Regions from separate parts of the Homo sapiens genome. Here regions 1, 2, 3, 4, 5 and 6 are each linked to region 7. The links are contacts of gene promoters, found by promoter capture Hi-C in blood cells and fetal thymus (Javierre and others, 2016). All regions are on one chromosome and are shown on one strand. The core of a region is centred on a gene start or on the middle of the fragment in contact, and the rest is flanking DNA. Distances in the headings are between cores, read along the strand shown.

The links. Contacts are between HindIII fragments. The CHiCAGO score rates a contact against its expected background, and 5 or more counts as called.
Region 1: a contact is called between a fragment that was not itself captured here and the fragment with the promoter of EPHA3 in region 7, in 1 of 17 cell types (M0 macrophages). The highest score is 5.1, in M0 macrophages.
Region 2: a fragment that was not itself captured here is called in contact with the fragment with the promoter of EPHA3 in region 7 in 1 of 17 cell types (naive B cells); the score reaches 9.4 in naive B cells.
Region 3: a contact is called between a fragment that was not itself captured here and the fragment with the promoter of EPHA3 in region 7, in 1 of 17 cell types (M2 macrophages). The highest score is 5.1, in M2 macrophages.
Region 4: a contact is called between a fragment that was not itself captured here and the fragment with the promoter of EPHA3 in region 7, in 1 of 17 cell types (naive B cells). The highest score is 6.8, in naive B cells.
Region 5: a contact is called between a fragment that was not itself captured here and the fragment with the promoter of EPHA3 in region 7, in 2 of 17 cell types (total B cells and naive B cells). The highest score is 7.2, in total B cells.
Region 6: a contact is called between a fragment that was not itself captured here and the fragment with the promoter of EPHA3 in region 7, in 2 of 17 cell types (total B cells and erythroblasts). The highest score is 6.1, in total B cells.

The regions. Positions count from the first base shown.
Region 1 is chr3:90,071,788-90,074,487 of GRCh38, forward strand. No RefSeq gene overlaps it. Among named protein-coding and RNA genes, the nearest start is that of EPHA3, 970 kb to the left of the region's middle. The HindIII fragment of the contact is 1,959 bases long and covers 346-2,304 here.
Region 2 is chr3:88,186,279-88,189,364 of GRCh38, forward strand. No RefSeq gene overlaps it. Among named protein-coding and RNA genes, the nearest start is that of C3orf38, 38 kb to the left of the region's middle. The HindIII fragment of the contact is 1,912 bases long and covers 824-2,735 here.
Region 3 is chr3:90,010,620-90,013,319 of GRCh38, forward strand. No RefSeq gene overlaps it. Among named protein-coding and RNA genes, the nearest start is that of EPHA3, 900 kb to the left of the region's middle. The HindIII fragment of the contact is 8,521 bases long and covers 1-2,700 here.
Region 4 is chr3:88,240,415-88,243,438 of GRCh38, forward strand. No RefSeq gene overlaps it. Among named protein-coding and RNA genes, the nearest start is that of C3orf38, 92 kb to the left of the region's middle. The HindIII fragment of the contact is 4,837 bases long and covers 1-3,024 here.
Region 5 is chr3:88,154,026-88,156,959 of GRCh38, forward strand. C3orf38 (chromosome 3 open reading frame 38) reads left to right here. Exons shown (of 3, transcript NM_173824.4): 3 at 1,996-2,934. The coding sequence ends at 2,610. Among named protein-coding and RNA genes, the nearest start is that of C3orf38, 5.5 kb to the left of the region's middle. The HindIII fragment of the contact is 1,595 bases long and covers 555-2,149 here.
Region 6 is chr3:88,170,595-88,173,475 of GRCh38, forward strand. No RefSeq gene overlaps it. Among named protein-coding and RNA genes, the nearest start is that of C3orf38, 22 kb to the left of the region's middle. The HindIII fragment of the contact is 5,278 bases long and covers 1-2,881 here.
Region 7 is chr3:89,106,227-89,109,186 of GRCh38, forward strand. EPHA3 (EPH receptor A3) reads left to right here and starts at 1,395. Exons shown (of 17, transcript NM_005233.6): 1 at 1,395-1,610. The coding sequence starts at 1,523. RefSeq lists an enhancer at 1,237-1,376. The HindIII fragment of the contact is 3,372 bases long and covers 1-2,242 here.

The DNA.
Region 1 (2,700 bases), core at 75-2,574, 970 kb after region 7:
GGGGTTGGGACTGAGGGGACAGGCAGGAGGGAAAGAAGGAAGATTTGGGATGAATCGCATTGGGAACAGAAAGTAGGGAGGGACTGATGTGTAAAAGAATGCCTGGAGGTCAGGCACCTCAGACCACTTGCCCATTTTACGACAAGAATTATTTAGATCTTGTAGGATGGAAGAATTGAAAGTGCCATTTTCTGGCTATTTGGAACCACTGTCGAGTTTGTATTGTGGTCAAGTGGCATTGCAGAAGAACATAGGCATTTAGGTTTTAGGTCAGGTATGAGTTGAAGAGATTTTAGGTTTTTAAGAACGCAGGCTAAGGGAGAAGAAGGGGGAATGGAGGGCGGAAGCTTGCCCATAGTGAAGGAGGCAAGCCCAGAGAAAAGAGAGAGTAAAGACAAGGAGAGAAGGGGTGGGGGGTTCTTGCCCCCCAGAAAAGCAGAGAAGGGGTCTGGGCATGGAAATAAGGGGGTAGGGCGCAGAGATAAGAGGTTGGGGCACAGAAATAAGGGATCGGGGCACAGAGATAAGAGGTTGGGGTGTGGAAATAAGGGATCGGGGGATTCTTGCCCCCCAGAAAAGCAGAGAAGGGGTAGAGACAGGGAGAGAAGGTGTTGGGGTTCTTGCTCCTCCCCCAGAAAAGCAGGACGTGCCCCTAAGGGTGAAAGACCAAGGCAGGCGTCCCTGCGTGGTCAGACACCTCTGAAATGTGGGTGAATAATCAGAGAGGTGTCCCTGCAATGATTAAACACCAAAGGAAGGCTGCCTTCCTGAGTCCATGACCAGCGCCGGAGTTTTGGGTCCACGGATAAAACGTGTCTCCTTTGTCTCTACTAGAAAATGAAAGGAATTGAAATTAAGAGAAGGGAGAGATTGAAGTGTGGCGCCAAGATTGAAAGGAGAAAGTGGTTGAGGGATAGTGAGAGAGGTTGCAGAAGAGAGTAAGAAGAGGCCGCTTACCTGATTTAAAATTGGTGAGATGTTCCTTGGGCTGGTGGGTCTGAGGACCTGAGGTGGTAGTTGGATCTTTCTCATGGAGCAAAATGCAGGAGGATAGGGGATTGATCTCCCAAGGGAGGTCCCCCTATCCGAGTCACGGCACCAAATTTCACCCGTGCCCCTGTAAAGAGACCACCAAACAGGCTTTGTGTGAGCAACAAGGCTGTTTATTTCACCTGGGTGCAGGCGGGCTGACTCTCTTTTCGGACTCAGCCCACCTGCGCCCAGGTGAAATAAACAGCCTTGTTGCTCACACAAAGCCTGTTTGGTGGTATCTTTACATGGACGTGAGTGAAATTCTCAAAATGCAGAAATTTAAGGAACAATGTTTCTTTGAGCTCCTTCTGAGGAATCTACTAATGAACAGCTTCAGTCAACGAAAATAATTAGAGACACTGACTGGTGGTGAACATTATACACTCACATGTAGACTTAAGAGTAGCTAGTGGTTAAAAGAGATGAAGTATAATACATAACAGCTACATGCTCTGACAATGTAGACATAGTATGACTATTAGAAATAGAAAATGAGGACCATGAATACAACAAAAATATTTAACTGTTTTCAGTCAGTATATTGGTGGTGTTAGTATTGTTATTCTAAGCAGTTAAAATATAAAGTGGTGGATGAAACAACTGAATAATTCTATCATCCTCTGAGCCCCTATAATTAATGATACTGAAAAAAACAAATGGAAGAAAGGAAGAAAGGGAAAGTGTAATAGAAAGAGAGAGGGGAAAGGGGAAAAAATTATTCATCTTAGGAGGATAACAGGAAACAAGAAAACAAATTTATTGAGAAAACTAGTATAAATTATCCTTGGCAAACATTCTGGAGAAGTTTCACCCTTGGCATCCTAGGCCTACACCCTAGGCTTAGTCTACTTTCTAGAGGACGTGAACTAAAGCCTCCCTCACTCTTTTTTATTTTTTATTTTTGCTCTGTCACCCAGACTGGAGTGCAGTGGCATGATCTTGGCTCATGGCAGCCTCACCCTTTCAGGCTCTAATGATCCTCCCAGCTCAGTCTCCCAAGTAGCTAGGATTACAGGCATGCACCACCATGCCTGGCTAATTTTTGTTTGTTTGTTTGTTTGTTTGTTTGTTTGTAGAGATGGGGTTTCCCCACATTGCCCAGTCTTCTCTGGAACTCCTGAGCTCAAGCAATTTGCCCACCTCAGCCTCTCATAGTGCTGGGGTTACAGGCATGACCCACTGTAACCAGCTTAAAGCCACTTCTTATTTAGTTCTCACAACAATCCCATAAAATAATTATTATTATCTCTATTTTACAGGTGACAAAAATGAAGCTTCAAGAGGCTAAATTATTTTCATAAACTCTCACTGCTAGTAAACTTAGCTATGTTTTAAATCCAGTTCTTTTCAACTAAAGCTCAGTGATTTTATTATGGCACATATGCACAAAAACACAAAATACAAGAGGAATGAAAAGACTGCTTTCCCAGTTCCTCCAGTAATTTCCACTGACTCAAATTTTTAAATTTGTATTAAGGTGTAAAATACATATGTAAATGTATAGCTCAATAATTTTACAAATTTGGTGCATACATATATATGGCTACATGGATATATATATGGATTACATAAATATATATGTGCAAATATATATATTTGGGGAGAATGTTGACTGTGAGGGGCCATGACAGCCTACTGAGATGCTTAACAGTAATACATCAATAATTA
Region 2 (3,086 bases), core at 530-3,029, 920 kb before region 7:
AGCATTCCTATACACCAATAACAGAGAGCCAAATCATGAGTGAACTCCCATTCACAATTGCTACAAAGAGAATAAAATACCTAGGAATCCAACTTACAAGGGATGTGAAGGACCTCTTCAAGGAAAACTACAAACCACTGCTCAACGAAGTAAGAGAGGACACAAACAAATGGAAGAATATTCCATGCTTATGGATAGGAAGAATCAATATCATGAAAATGGCCATACTGCCCAAAGTAATTTATAGATTCAATGCCATCCCCATCAAGCTACCAATGACTTTCTTCACAGAATTGGAAAAAACTACTTTAAAGTTCATATGGAACCAAAAAAGAGTCTGCATTGCCAAGACAATCCTAAGCAAAAAGAACAAAGCTGGAGGCATCATGCTACCTGACTTCAAACTATACTACAAGGCTACAGTAACAAAAACAGCATGGGACTGATACCAAAACAGAGATATTGACCAATGGAACAGAACAGAGGCCTCAGAAATAACACCACACATCTACAACCATCTGATCTTTGACAAACCTGACAAAAACAAGAAATGGGGAAAGGATTCCCTATTTAATAAATGGTGCTGAGAAAACTGGCTATATGTAGAAAGCTGAAACTGGATCTCTTCCTTACACCTTATACAAAAATTAACTCAAGATGGATTAAAGACTTAAATGTAAGACCTAAAACCATAAAAACCCTAGAAGAAAACCTAGGCAATACCATTCAGGACATAGGCATGGGTAAAGACTTCATGATTAAAACACCAAAAGCAATGGCAACAAAAGCCAAAACTGACAAATGGGATGTAATTAAACTAAAAAGCTTCTGCACAGCAAAAGAAACTACCATCAGAGTGAACAGGCAACCTACAGAATGGGAGAAAATTTTTGCCATCTACCCATCTGACAAAGGGCTAATATCCAAAATCTACAAAGAACTTAAAGAAATTTACAAGAAAAAAACAAACAACACCATCAAAAAGTGGGCAATGGATATGAACAGCCACTTCTCAAAAAAAGACATTTATGCCGGCCTCAGACACATGAGAAAATGCTCATCGTCACTGGTCATCAGTGAAATGCAAATCAAAACCACAATGAGATACCATCTCACACCAGTTAGAATGGCAATCATTAAAAAGTCAGGAAACAACAGGTGCTGGAGAGGATGTGGAGAAATAGGAATGCTTTTACACTGTTGGTGGGAGTGTAAATTAGTTCAACCATTGTGGAAGACAGTGTGGCGATTCTTCAAGCATCTAGAACTAGAAATACCATTTGACCCAGCAATCCCATTACTGGGTATATACCCAAAGGATTATAAATCCTGCTACTATAAAGACACATGCACGTGTATGTTTATTGCAGTACTATTCACAATAGCAAAGACTTGGAACCAACCCAAATGTCCATAAATGATAGACTGGATTAAGAAAATGTGGCACATATACACCATGGAATACTATGCAGCCATAAAAAATGATGAGTTCATGTCCTTTGTAGGGACATGGATGAAGCTGGAAACCATCATTGTCAGCAAACTGTCACAAGGACAGAAAACCAAACACCGCATGTTCTCACTCATAGGTGGGAGTTGAACAATGAGAACACATGGACACAGGGAGGGGAGCATCACACACTGGGGCCTTTTGGGGGTGGGTGGAGGGCTGCGGGAGGGATAGCATTAGGAGAAATAACTAATGTAAATGATGAGTTGATGGGTGCAGCAAACCAACATGGCACATGTATACCTATGTAACAAACCTGCACGTTGTGCACATGTACCCTAGAACTTACAGTATAATAATTAAAAAAGAGCACAAAATGTGTCACACTGGGATAATATTATATGAGGCACTTGGAATAAAAGCACGTATTGAAGGAGTACAAATAAAATTTCTAATCGTGAAAAAGGAACTTATATGTAAATATGTAAATAGATACTGATGAGTAGAAAATTCAACATTAGTTATATTTTATCTATTATTTTTATTTATTTATTGTATATACTGAAGATGTGCAACATGATGCTTTTATACATACATACATATATATATATATATATATATATATATATATATATATATATATACACATAACATTAATACAGTCAAGCAAACTACCTGGGAATTGTGTATATTTGGAATCTGGTAAATAAAAAGATGTTTAGTGCAATAGAGGAATCTAAGAAGCACCAGGCTAAATCTTTCTGTGAAGTTCCTTTTGTTCCTGAATCACGCTTCTCATGTTCTCTTTTGACTGACAGATCCACCACAAGAGACATCTATGACTGGGATGAAAGGAATCATCTTTGCCAGGAGGGGCTGGCTCTGGGAGGACTCGAGGGAAAGCCTTGGGGCAGACGCCAGCCGTCAGAGTTCACAGCTGTGGTGATGGCTGCAGCAAGGGGAATTTTACTCATGACTCAGGAGGAGTCAAGGGACAGTACTGGACGCAGACACAAGGAGGGACACTGAATTCGCAATTTTTTTTTCTCCCTGTTGTTATCTAAATCCTGGTTTCTCTTTTCCAAATTGATGTTCTTTGGATTGGCCTCTCAGTTCTTCTTCATTAATAGTATACCAATGATGGATGATGGCTATGAAGCTCTAGAATGCCACTCTGTCTGTTGCAAATCTAAAAGAAAGTTATTTTACTCACCAAATATAACCATTACTTTGCTGGAAGAGGGTATTCTGGAGGAACTGTGAAAAATTAAATGTGAATGAGGAAAGCTTTTATAGCTAGACAAGGTGGTGGAAGTGGAGAGGGAAAGGTTTGTAGAATGTAAATGTTTAGTGGTCTACAGTAAGGTTGGCAAAGACTTGATTCCAAAACTCCTCCTCCCTCCTTCACCTTCAACCCATAAAGGACACCAGTAATCAATGTTCTCATTCTTTTCCACTGAACTCAAAGGAGGTCACACATTCTTGAATACATTTTTCCAGGCATCATTCCGAATCAACTGGTATTAGATAAAGAGGTAAAATCCAATCGTCATCTTGAGACAAGAAGTCTTCTCACGATCAAAGGTTTTTCTTGATCCAAGGATTCGGGGTCTCACGGGCTTCAAGGAATGAAGTT
Region 3 (2,700 bases), core at 15-2,514, 900 kb after region 7:
AGTAATATGGGAAGTTATTGGAGAGTTCTGAGCAGAAGAATGGCATGATCAGACTTTTGCCAAAAGTCCTGTAGCTAACAATAGACAAAAGTGTCCTCTAATCATCATAATCAAGTAAACTATCTATTCCAGTTAGAGAAATACTGCTGTCAATTCTCTTATAATTAAGGGCTAATTATAAAGAGCTCTGTAATGCAGTGACCATACATACTTTAGAAGAGAATTTCCCTACCATTCACACATAACTAGAACTTTGGACTCCAAATTCTATTTTGATGTACCTATCATCATTTAGAAATATAATTTACAAAATGCTGATTACAAAATATACATACTCTGTTTTATTCAAAATTAAAACTGTGAAAGGATTTAGAGAAAATATTCCCTTGGCCTTATGTAGAATAGTCAGACAATTTTGTGGCTTTTTTATTGGTAACATCCACAGCTAAGTGATAACTAAATGTTCCTATTCTTCTAGTTGACGGGCAGTAAATATTCAAGACAATGATGAGGGCATCATCCAGTGTGATATTCCGGATGGAAGTCCACACCACGTAAGTTAGTGTCCCTCTTGTCTCTCACATGAGCTGAATTTTCAGGAAAGCAGAGAAGTCAGGCAATCAGCCAACGGTCTGTGTTGCTTTCATTACAGACCTGCAAAGCATTTAAATCTTCAGAAGAGAAAGTTTCTGCCTTCTTAAAACCAGCTGTACACCAGCCACTCTCAATGGTCCATGAGGCACCCAGCTCAGAGAATTCCACTTCCCCCTAAAGATCGGTCAGAACTGCTGGGAAAAGCAAGCACTTCAAAGTAACACAGAGGTCTGGTGAATGTTCGGCTCACTTCAGAAAGCATTTCCCTGCTCAGAGATAAGGGGGGAAGCTGCAATATTCTGAAAGTTTGCAGAATCATGGCATTGCTCCCACCTGCTTTTCTGTTTCACCCTGAAACTTAAGTCAATCAGGAGGCCTGCTTCGTGCACAGTTGAACACAAATAATAACTGTCTGGGAAAATACAGCAAAACAATAGACATCTTTACAATTACGATTTGGGTGCTGGAGCATACATGTGAAACAAATGTGCTACCAAAGACTGTGACTTCCAGAATCTTGAAAGTGTTGTATAGTATTTCCGACTGCCAATTGTGTAACTGGCAAGTTGGACTTCAAACTGTTTTCTCAATACAGTTGACCCTTGAACAGTGCAGGGGCTAGGGGAACCAGCCTCTGGTGCAGTCAAAACTCCACATTAATTTTGACTCCCCAAAATCTTAACTGCTAATAGCCTACTGTTGACGAGAAGCCTTATGATAACACAAGTGGTTGGTAAACATATATTTTGTTTGTTATATGTAATATATACTGTATTCTTACAATATTGTAAGCCGAAAAAAAGTTAAGAAAATCACAAGGAAGAGAAATATACTTATTATTCATTAAGTGGGAGTGGATCATCATAAAGGTCTTCATCCTCATTGTCTTCCCACTGAGCAGGTTAAGGAGTAGGAGGAAGAGAAGGGGATGGTCTTGCTGTCTCAGCAATGGCAGAGGTGGAAGAAAATCTGCATAAAAGTGAACCCACACAGTTCAAACCCATGTTGTGTAAGAGAATACATTTCTCTTTCCTTTTTACCTTATCTGTAAATGATTAATTCCCTTTTCTAGAATGACAATAGCTAAAATTCCAATTCAACATCTACACAGCTACCTCTAAGGTCTCATCGATGGTGCAAGAGATTAACTGGACCTGGTAAAGATTCTCTCTGGCACCAAGGGACTGGCTCTGCAGGAATCCAGCTGGCCTCTTTTGTTCCACAGAGTAAACATAGCTTATTTCATTTAATCTCAATCACATACTATGGCAACTATGTGCATAGGTCCCATCTTTGAAGACATCCAAAAGGAAGATATTCTTATGCTACTTGTAGTTTATTGTTTTCTTTCCCTTTTTTTTTTTTTTTTTTTTTTTGGAGACCGAATCTTGCTCTGTTGCCCAGGCTGGGGTGCACTGGCACGATCTTGGATCACTGCAACCTCTGCCTCCCAGTTTCAAGCGATTCTCCTACCTCAGCCTCCTGAGTAGCTGGGATTACAGGTGCAAGCCACTACACTCGGCTAATTTTTTGTATTTTTAGTAGAGATGGGGTTTCACCATGTTGGCCAGGCTGGTCTCGAACTCCTGACCTCAGGTGATCCACCCACCTTGGCCTCTCAGAATGCTGGGATTACAGGCGTGAGCCACTGCACCCGACCTCTGGTTGTTTTCTTAGAATATGATTGCCTACTCAAAATAATTAATTAAGACTATAGAACTGCTTTTAAAAGTTAGCGATGTGATAATTAAACATAAATCATCATCATTCACATAAGAATTTAAAATAGTCCCAAATGAAGAGACAGCTAGCATTAAAAACAATTTCTACTTTTATGAGTTAAATCAATGTCATAAGCAAAATAGTTTTCTTTTAAAAAATTATCTGTTCTCTATCTTTAGAATCTTTCTGCCAAATCCCCTTCCCACACTTGTCAAGTCAAGTATATCTTACACAGCCCACATTCTCCCACATCTAAATTATTTGGGTTTGATTGCCAGCCACATGAAATGTTAATCAAAGTAAATAGTTATCACTTATTTTTAGATAGGGTGACACCTGGCATTTTTCTTTCCTCACTATCTTCTCAAAACCTCTCTTATTCTG
Region 4 (3,024 bases), core at 281-2,780, 870 kb before region 7:
TCTGATGCCCAGAAGCTAGCGGGGCTTCTGACCTCGACCTTCCTATTCTCAGCTAACACTGCCCCGCCCCTGAAGGTCAAAACAAAAGTGTAGGAATTTCCCTTGTTTCCATCCCAGACAGAGCTCTACACTGTTTTCTCTTTCTTATGGGGGGACTGGATCAAGCCTAAAGGTATAAATTAAGTTAACAAAATGTAAACTGTTCAGAGATAATAGCATTTTGTTAGTTGATTCACGAAGATGAATCTTAAATGCAAATGGTTTGTCAAGGAGGAAGATAGAATAATTTCAGGACTGTTGTAAATTATTTTGTCAGCTACCTATTTAAACCCTATTGCCGTGAGGCCTAAGAAGAATTTTCTCACCTAAAGAGGATCTTTGGGGTCTTGTAAATCTCTTCTGTAACCTCTTTGTCTACCTTAAGGCTCTCAGGGTCACACAATTTCTACAAATGTTGATTATGTGAAATAAATCCACATTCTGAACCTGTGAGAGCACCAAAATAGTTAAAAATGGATGTAAAATCCCCACATTCACATCGCAGTGTTTATTCCATTTGCTGTACACAGAGAAATTTTCCAAACCAGTGCCTCAGGTGGGAACTAGATCTTAAACCTACTCTTAATATTAGAGCTCAGAACTAACCATATAGTTTATTCATCCTAATCTTAAATCTTCTGTTTCAATGGAATATCAAAGATAAAGCTAAAAAGAAAATATTTTAATATTTGGAAATATACTTTTTAATGTGTATGGTTTCTCTAGAAAACAAATGTCCTATCAGCTTATGTCTAATACAGTGAGATTAGAAGGAATGCTTACTATGTCTGTTTTACATTGGGTTAAATTCTACAGCTGTTGCTATCCAGGCAAGGTCCTGAAATCTTAACTAATATATTAAAACTAATAGCTTGACATCTTGTTTCTATACCAGTTATCTACTTATCTAATGCTGTGGCTGTGAAGGTTAGCACACCATTCACAAGGGTCTCAGTTTTAGTGAGAATTTAAGGAGAAAATAGCATCATATGACAAAGGTGTGTTTCGTCTGCTTATCCAGTGTTCTAAAATTATGGGAGGACAATTGGGGTCTTGAATGGGGCCCAAAGAAGTCTGTTTTGTCAATTACCTAGTTATCTAACTGAAGTTTGCTCTCTAATGAAAACTAAATTGCCTACTTCTATATTGCATAATCTTTAACAGTTGAAACCAAACAGAATACATCATCAATCTTCCTCAGATAGGACCCGTACATTTTCACAAAGGCAGGATATTTTCTGTTGATAGTACTCACATAGGAAACTGCTTAATGCACCACAACATTTTTTAAGGTATGGTTCATGTCTCTTGTTTAGTGAAGCATTTGAATGATAATCAATTTGACTGATAATCCATCAATGAGGTAAGGTGTAAATGGGAGCATGCACTCTGACCTCAGATAATGTTAACCTATATAAGCCATTGAGCTGGGACATTAAGTATAACTTTAGTTATGCCTAAATTTACTTGTGGAAAATACATCATTTTGATTATTGTTTACTAGCAATTTATTAGCATTTCATAACACTTAATTATGAAAACAAAACATAATTTATCAAGTCTTTTAATTCTCAGGTTTCTGAAAAGCATTTTGGCCAGACATGGAAATGATTAACCCCATCATTTCATTATCCATCTACTCATCCATACACACTTACATACTTACATAATGTAAAACATTATGACACGCCTGCAGTGTTACGTGCTCTGCTTTATGATCTGAAAATATGATAGTGAATAAGACAGGTACCTACTCTCAAGATGCTTATAGTCTATATTTAGGAAATGTTTGGGTAGCAGACATTATTTGATTGCCTTCCTGGCATCTAGTTGTTACTTCCTTTTTCTCAACACGGGTTTGGAAAACTATGACATTTGGTGAAGCTGTTGTTAAACTAACCACCACATTTTGTCTCTCTGGTTCAGTTGTGAGCATGGGAGCTACACTGGTTCAACTAGAGTAAATATGTGGACTTTTGCTTAGAATTAAATTAATGGTGCTATTTGTCCTATTATAATCGTCCATGAAAGAGAATTCACATTATAGAAAAACAGATGAGACTCAGGTGACTTTTAGCCAATAAATGGACCAGCTCTCTTAGTGTATTTAGTCATAACAAATGTGTGTCATGATGTCATCCCATAAAATGCACATTAGAAATTCTAGAATTACTTTAATTTGTTAAAACACTAAGTGATGGAATTTGCTTTATTTATCGGATTTGGAAAGAACTATGAATTAAAAAAATAACATAAAACTAAATTTCCATATACATTCTTGTTAAGAAAATCTGGGGCAACAATTTGATGTGACATTGTTACCTAAAGCAGCTCAGGAATTCATAACTTTAAGAATTAGTTAAATAAAAATTCCTTTAAATCCAGCTGAGAGGTTTAACCACTTGAGAACAAGGCCAGAAATGGGAGAGGTAGAGGCAAAACACCCAAGAACCTAGTAAGTATGAAATAGGTAGTTGAGTGGGTAAGTGAGAACTTTAAGACTCAGCAGTCATTTAGAATTAAAATACCTTTCACTGATTTTTTAATATCTTTTAAAGAATAGTTCCCCTAATCCTATTATTCCTGATCATGACTATTGCTTTTCAGGGCTAGAGTTACAACTTCATTTTACCAAATTGTTCCTTTTGTTAGAATCTTGCACTTGGAATGTAATATCATTCCTCTTGGTGGAAACTGACGCACTTTACCATGTGTTTGGAAAGCCCTTCCATAGCTGGGGGGCAACCTGAGCAATGTTTATCACCCATTCCAAAGGGGGTTATGGGTGGAAACCAAGACTAGATTCTAATAACTCAAAGCATGTAAGAAGACTGGATTCTGGTAACTCAAAGCACCTTGAACTGTGTTTGTGTAAACTCTGGGCCATATGGGATACCACCCACCTATGGGAGACATCATAATGGAGAAGTTTACCAGTAGATTGAAACAAATGCAGATGATATTGAATAGACACAAAGCCAGACT
Region 5 (2,934 bases), core at 102-2,601, 950 kb before region 7:
TCATCAAATGAGGACTATTGGATTTTTAGAGAGTAAACTGCAAGGTTAATTTTAACTTTAGCTCCGTGTAATTTTTTTTCACTTTAGAAGAATTTTATTGCAAATTCTTTCTCACTTTTAAGACGTTTTTGGTATTGCAAAAATGTCATGAAAGGAACTTAAAATTTTACTTTAAAAAAAATTTTCTTTTAAGTTCCAGGGTACGTGTGCAGGTTTGTTAGATAGGTAAACATGTGCCATGGTGGTTTGCTGCGCCTATCAACCTATCACCTAGGTATGAAGCCCAGCATGCGTTAGCTATTTTTCTTGATGCCCCCGCCCCCACATTGGAACCTAAATATTTTTTATACTTTTTTTTTTTTAACTAGAAAAAGTCCTATTGTAGAAATATTCTCCAGCGGACATTGGCTGTTTCTGTTCTTTATATTATCTCCACTGTACATTTTAGATACTGCACAAATATTTAAGTGTTGCTTGAATTAACCTCTATGTAATTTGCAGATTTTTAAACTACATACCACATTTTTTGAATTAATGAGGTTTCACAGTGAGAAAGCTTTGCCTTCACACTAGGAAAGAATCTTTAAGAGCTTTCTTACTTTATGTACTGATAAGAGCATTGACTTTGAAATCATACAAATACGACTTCAAATTAGGGTCTGCAATATACTAGGTGTGTTAAATTAGGCAAATAACCAGTGCCACGCACAGTGCCCAGTGTATTAAATAGCAGGTGCTCAGTAAACCTAAGATCTCATACATCTCAGTAAAGTACTGTGTTGTGGAACACATGGATGAATGAGATCTAGTGTATCAGGTAGATTTTTACAGTAACTTTTTTTTTTTTTTTTTGAGACAAAGTCTGCCCTGTCACCCAGGCTGGAGTACAGTTGGCATGATCTCAGCTCACTGCAGCCTCCACCCTCTGGGTTCAAGCACTTCTCCTGCCTCAGCCTCCCAAGTAGCTGGAATTACAGGCATGCGCCACTACACTCAGCTAATTTTTGTGTTTTTAGTAGAGACGGGGTTTCACCATGTTGTCAAGACTGGTCTTGAACTCCTAACCTCAAGTGATCTGCCTGCCTCAGCCTCCCAAAGTGCCGGGATTACAGGCATGAACCACCACGCCCAGCTTACAGTAACATTTTCTGTGAAAAAAGAGAAATAATAGAATAAAATTAATCCCAGTTATAGAAAATAACCTGTTTCAATCACCGTAAGAGTATCTATTTAAAGACAATGAAAATGCTTGCTTATATTAACTTTATGTCATTTATATGCAAAATGCATCCATTTAAAGTGAACGTTTTGAAGGTTTTCACATATATACCTGTGATATACATATATACCTGTGAAAACACTGCCACAATCTGAGGAAACACTTACATAAATCATCATATAATTTATATATTTTTATATATGACTGTTCATACTGATTTTTTTTTTTTTTTCACACGGAGTCTCGCTCTGTTGCGCGGGCTGGAGTGCAGTGATGCTATCTTGGCTCACTGCAACCTCCACCTCCCAAGTTCAAGTGATTCTCCTGCCTCAGCCTCCTGAGTAGCTGGGAATACAGGTACACGCCACCATGCCCGGCTAATTTTTGTATTTTTAGTAGAGACGGGGTTTCACTATATTGGCCAGGCTGGTCTCAAACTCCTGACCTCACCATCCGCCTGCCTCCTCCTCCCAAAGTGCTGGGATTACAGGCGTGAGCCACCACGCCCGCCAAGTTCATACTGATTTTTAAATTGGCCTTACTAAACCTTACTCTCTTAGCTGAATTTTCAGCAATTTAAGCTGGAAATTTCTAAAATGATTTTTCTCCTCTTGAAAAAAGATTTTTACTATGCATAATGGGTTCAGCAAGTTCACATATGGTTCATTTCTCTCTGGTGTAATGGGTTCATTCAAACTTAATAGGCTAGATAGAAAAATAGATATGAAAGTTAAACCTTAGTGTTATTTTGTATTTATTTTATTTGTTTCAATCAGCAGGTGAAAGAAGATAAAAAAGCTGAAAAAGTTGATTTTCGTCGCCTAGGAGAAGAATTCTGTCATTGGTTCTTTGGACTTCTTAATTCTCAGAATCCTTTTCTAGGACCACCTCAAGATGAATGGGGACCACAGCACTTCTGGCATGATGTGAAGCTTAGGTTTTATTACAACACATCAGAACAAAATGTTATGGACTACCATGGAGCAGAAATCGTGAGCCTTCGTTTGCTGTCACTAGTAAAAGAAGAATTTCTTTTTCTCAGCCCCAACCTAGATTCACATGGACTGAAATGTGCATCTTCTCCTCATGGGCTGGTTATGGTTGGAGTTGCTGGGACTGTCCATCGAGGAAACACTTGTTTGGGCATTTTTGAACAAATTTTTGGACTCATCCGCTGCCCTTTTGTGGAGAATACTTGGAAAATCAAATTTATCAACCTGAAAATTATGGGAGAGAGTTCCCTTGCTCCTGGAACATTACCGAAACCATCTGTTAAATTTGAACAAAGTGATCTAGAGGCCTTTTATAATGTAATCACTGTATGTGGTACCAATGAAGTACGACATAATGTAAAGCAGGCTTCGGATAGTGGAACTGGGGACCAAGTTTGAGGTAGTGGAAATGAGACATTGCTGAACAAAAGAGAACTGGGTTTACCTGACCCTCTAAAGCGCTAAGTACTGTCAGCCTGAAAAAAATCTTCTATACAGAAACTCTTCCAAATACTATATCAGTAATGTCTGAATGATTTCAGATGTGAAAATTGACATATTTTAGTTGAAATACCTTTCTGGACTACAGACTTACATATCATGTGAATACTTACCTATTTCTACCCGAGTTGCAGCAAGTATTCTGAAAGCTTAATGCAAATAAATCCCACTTTAGATCTTACAGCTAACTGTGTGCCTTAGAAACCAGGTAATATTTTCCTT
Region 6 (2,881 bases), core at 52-2,551, 940 kb before region 7:
ATGAGCTGAGATCGCGCCAGTGAACTCCAGCCTGGGTGACTGGGCGAGACTCAGTCTCAAAAAAAAAAAAAAAATTACTATTTGCAGATGTGAGAATGTACGTATATATATACACATGTACACACGCATACACACACACATATATATTTTGAATTTTGTGCTATGTGCATATATTATCTGGTCAGAACAGATACAGGTATAAACAAATAATGAAGGCAGTTGTTAGTGTATAATCAACCTTACCCAATGAGAGGTCTGACCTTTGCCCCTAGCTCTAGGCTCTTGTAATGTTCTGCAACATAAGAGTGTCACTCCTCAGGGCTTTGGCTGTGGGACAGTCTAACAATGTGATTTATGATAGGTTTTGGGCTGTGCCATATCAATTTTTACCTACCTCCAGAGGAACTTGAGTTCAAAGCTATTAGCCCAACTTCTGGGAGGAACTGTAGACTAAAGTTCAGCCACACAAACAATAAATAGGTGATCAAGCCCTAATAAAAACTCTGAACACCAAAGGCTGGGATAAGTATTGTCCCACATTGTGACTGGAAAGAGATAAAGCCATCTATGACTCCATGGGAGAGGGACTGGAAGCTCCACATTGGACCCCTGCTAGACTCTGTCCTATATTCCTGTGATGCTTAATTTTAGGAGTCAACTTGACTGGATTCAGGGATACCCAGATAGCTGGTGAAGCATTATTTCTCGGTATGTTTGTAAGGGTGTTTCCAGAAGAGACTGGCATTTGAATCAGTGGACTGAGTATGGAAGATCTACCCTGATGTAATGTGGGCAGGCACCATCCAATTGTCTGAGGGCCTGGATAGATCAAAAAGGCAGAAGAAAGGCAATTTGCTCACTTTGTCTCATCTGGAGTTGAGACACCCAGCTTCTCTTGCTCTTGGACATCAGAACTCCAAGTTCTCCAGCCTTTTGGCATCAGGATGTGCACTAGTGCCCCTTGGTTCTCAGGCTTTTTGGATTTGAACCAAGCCATGCTACCAACTTCCCTCATTCTCCAGGTTGGGACTTCTCAGCCTCCATAATCATGTAAGCTAATTCCTCTAACAAATCCTCTGCCATATTTATCTATCATTTATCTATCCTATTGGTGGTCCTGTTTCTCTGAAGAATCCTAATACCAGGAGTGATTCTAGAGGAACAGAACTGTAAGGATGAGCTTCCTAAATTGGTTTTGGGACTTCTGGAATTGGCTCTCTAGTGTGATTATATTTAAAAATGCTAAGGACTCTGTTTCCAATAGTACAGAGAGCACTGGTTGTCCATGGCATGAACTGTTATACAGATATCAAAATATCTGCATTAGATACTCCTAATCAACCACTTATAAGAGGCAGGAAATCAATGACTCTGTATATAATACTTTTGAATGTTTATGAAAAACTGAGTGTATTAGTCTGTGTTGTGTTACTATAAAGGAATACCGGAGGCTGGGTAATTTATAAAGAAAAAGGATTTATTTGGCTTGCAGTTCTGGAGAGCTAGAAAGTTCAACTTTGAGCATCTGCATCTAAGGGCTTCAGGTTGCTTCCACTCAAGGCAGAAGGTGAAGAGGAGCCAGCATCTGTACCTCATATGACAAAAGAGAAAGGGGGGCAGTGCTGGGCTTTTTTTTAACCACAGCTATTTCTTGGGAACGAATAGAGTGAGAACTCACTTACCCTTTTCCACCCACAGGGAGGACATTAATCTATTCATGGGGGATCCACCCCAAGGACCCAAACACCTCCCATTGGGATCCACTTCCAACATTGGGGGTCAAACTTCAACATGAGGTTCGGAGGAGACAAATATTTACCATAGTGCTAAGGAATATAATGATATTTATTGGTTGTTCCTAATGTTACTGCACAAAGTAATGAAAGAAAAGAATGAGTTAAGGGATTCAAATTCCCAGCTCAAGCAATGCATACATGACCTCAGAGCTTCTAGATGTACCCTGTGGAAATTTTCTCTACTGGAGCCATAGGGCTAAAATTGCTAAAAATCAAACACAAGTCCTCATCATGCGATTGGCTGAATTAAATGAAAGTTGAATCCCTAGCCTCATAGGGCATCTACTGTTAAAGTGAGGGCATTGATTGGGAAAGAATGGGATCCTGTAAGTTGACTTGAAGACATGTGGGGAGACATGATGAAGCTGGGGACATTGAGCACTTAAATTTTGGTGAGTCTTTTTTGTGAGCAGAAGTTGCCTTCCCACCCCCAGAAGCAGTGGCATTCTTACCCACAGTGGTAGTGGCCTTTCTACACTTAACCCTGCATTGTCTAAGGAAATAATAATGGCCCCCTGAGGCATTTGCCGAGAAAGACAATGCTGATTCTCCCCATACCCACTTCTATCACCTTTTTGCTTTTAGGCTTATAACTAGACTCAAATCCCAGCAGGCTCCTAAAGGTGAGGTACAAAGTCTGACCAATGAGGAGGTATGCTACACTCCAAAAGGACTATTTGAATTTTCTAGTTCGCACAAGCAGAAATCCAGGGAACATGTGTGGGAATGAATATTAAGTGTATGGGATAATGGTGGAAGGAACATAAAGTTTGATAAGGCCAAATTTATTAATATGGGCCCACTAAATAGTAATTCTGAATTTAATGTTGCAGCTTAGAGAGTTAGAAAGCATACAAACTGGTTGGTTGATTGGCTGAAATATTAATCAAAAGGTGGCTCACCATGAGCAAGTTGAAGATGCCTGATCTCCCTTGGCTTAATGTGGAGGAGGGAATTCAAAGTCTTAGGGAGATTGGAATGCTAGAGTGGATTGGTCACCTAAGACCTACTTACCCACACTGGGAGGGTCTGGAAAACATACCTTACCAATACACTGAGAAATAGACTTGTGAGGGGAGTGCCAG
Region 7 (2,960 bases), core at 145-2,644:
TCTCTTTTCCCCTGGCTGCTTCTATCCACCCCAATTCCCCACCCCAGTCATCAAACTATTATCTGGCACCATTAACTTAAATTCAAGTGAAAATTGTGTTCTCTAACTAAAAACATTGAGTTTGTGGACTGAATACATTATTAGCAAGGGCTTTTCAAACTTTCATTTAAGTTTCATTATCAAGAGCTCTAAAATTGATCACTGATCTTAAGATTATCAACATACCTTTATTTTCTGAAGTTGTGAGAGGAATATAATAATCTTGTTTTCTTTTTAGTATAAGAAGAGATAGATGGGCGGAAGGATATCTGAGTAACCATTTTCTGGGAGATATTTTAAAGATAAGTGATGCTGGTTATTAAAATATAAATTACAAAATTGTTTGGCTGAACTAGATTGCAATAGGTTGTTCAGCAATGGGATTGGAAATAACAGAGACCATTGATAGTCATGGTGTAAAATAAGTGAGAAAGTACGAGGACATTATTATTTAGCTTTTGGATTTGGAATGTTAAAGAATAAGAATACCCCAATATTATTAGACTATCAGTGGTTGAAAGTTGAATGGAGGAGCTGTGAATTATGCATTGTTTCTCTTGCAGAACCCAGAGATCCTAATGTGAGATGGTGAGGGAGGGGGATATGTATTATTAAGAAATTTAGGTTTGATCTGTATTACTTTTACAACACAGAACGAGAAAAGAATGTAGACCTCCGGCTGGGGTTAGACTTGCTCCCTTCCGTAAGATGATGAAGGTCAACTTCCCTGTTTGAAAAAAAACAAAGTATGCTCTATGTGCGCGGAAAATCACTGTGCCAGATCTAGTAAAAAGCCACGATACCATTGGGTGTGGAAATGCAGAGACCCTCTGATTCAGGCTGTGTATTAGTGTCTTTCTGAATCACAAAGAACTCATGGAGAGTTATGATCACATTGAACACAGTAAAGGAATAACTATAATCATTTTTTTCAATTATACAAACATGATTGACTTTTTAACGAAAGACTGCTATTCTTTCAAAACACACGTTTCTCTCGCATTTCAGTTCCTTTTGCACTCACATTGCCATATGATACTCCTATCAAGGCTGTGATTTCTTCGGTGAATTAAGCAACAGAGCATGGATAGCAAACAATAAAACAGCTACTTTTCATGCAACACAAAAGAGGGAGCATTTTTCTCAGCACCGCGGCCTCATCACATCTTCTGTGTTTCCTGTCCCATGGGCGACGCCCCCACTCCCACCCGGTCTCCTTCCCGAGCAGCTCTGGGCTGCAGAGCCAGCTGCGTGCCATCCCGCTCTGCTTCAGCGCACGCTGAAGACGGCACTAGGACCCAGGGAAGTCCCCGAGCGGGGTTCGCGGAAAGGCAGCCAGACTCCTCCTTATCTCCAGTGTCAAACTTGACATCAGCCTGCGAGCGGAGCATGGTAACTTCTCCAGCAATCAGAGCGCTCCCCCTCACATCAGTGGCATGCTTCATGGAGATATGCTCCTCTCACTGCCCTCTGCACCAGCAACATGGATTGTCAGCTCTCCATCCTCCTCCTTCTCAGCTGCTCTGTTCTCGACAGCTTCGGGGAACTGATTCCGCAGCCTTCCAATGAAGGTAAGCCAGGTACCGCGACGCACGGAGCTCTGCCCCGCGGGGCTCACGCTCTTCAAAGCACGTTCTCACCGAAGCCTTGCACGTCGGGAAGGTGCCTCCGAATAGAGCAGTTTGCTCTGAGAGTGAAGGAAAGATGTGCCTTTTTTTTTTCCAACTGTCTTCTAAAACACTTCAGGAGATAATTTTAGATGGTCTAAACTTTGAAAATGTGTTTTTAATCTGACACCATTTCGAGCAATTACCTTGTTTGCCAATTTGAGCAGAAAGAAAGAAAGAAAATCCTCCAGCGTTGCAACCCAGTTATGTTAATTGCCAAATAGCCAAGGCAGTATTTTATTTTCTAATTATGACCATGTGGTACTCCGAGAAGTTTGAAAGAAAATTCAGCCTTCCTCTCTAGACTCTTTAGTATGTTTAAAGGTAATGACAGGTTGTTCCTACTTGGGATCATGGCATTTATGAATGGACTAAAGGGAAATCAGAGTTTGTCGAAGCGGAGGTGCGTGTTTATGGTGCAAGGGCTGTGTTGAAGTTGTGTGTATCCCGCCAGGCAATGGTTTGCTCTATGGTACAGGTTCTAAAGAGCAGCATATGCCACATTAACGTAAGTAATATTTGCAAGAATTACAATAAGCTTAGGTTGGATTCTCTTTGTTTAAAGGCTTATATACAAATAGGAGAATGTATTTAATGAATAGTGGATAGCTCCTGGGAAGATATAGTAAATAACTGAATAGTAGATTAAGAGAGAATGTTCATATGCAGCAAATGGCATTTCCTTGATGTTGTGTTATTTATTATCCTTGTAATGAGCATTAATTCCTTTTCAGTGGGTTAAAGTGCAAACCTAATGTTAAGGACACCAATGTGTTCTATAAGATTGTGTACTTAATACATACATTTTCTTTCTCCTGTATTCCTTTTGTGATCTATTCTTGTGAATACAGTCACTAACTCGTAAAACAAACTTCTCTAAATAATTGATTAGTGTAAAGCCACACTTACAACATTAATTTCCTCTTAGTGATTTTGAACTTATAACAGTAACATTTAGCAATTTATTTTGCAAGTTAACAATACCGAGCAACTGATGTGCAAACATCATGTTATATACATCACTCCTTAGAAAATATATTGTCAAGCCAATACTGTTGTATATGTACCTTAATTTTAAAAACACGAGTAAAAACAAAATACTTAGAAAGTTTTTTATTAAATGTAATAACTGCCTGATACTCGGTGACCTACTTTCACTGCTAATAGAGCAGTAATTTATCTCCTTCCTTACTGACTGCCTTTATCAATTTGGCAGTTTTCATTAAATGTTCTGAATCTTTTTTCTAAATAAGA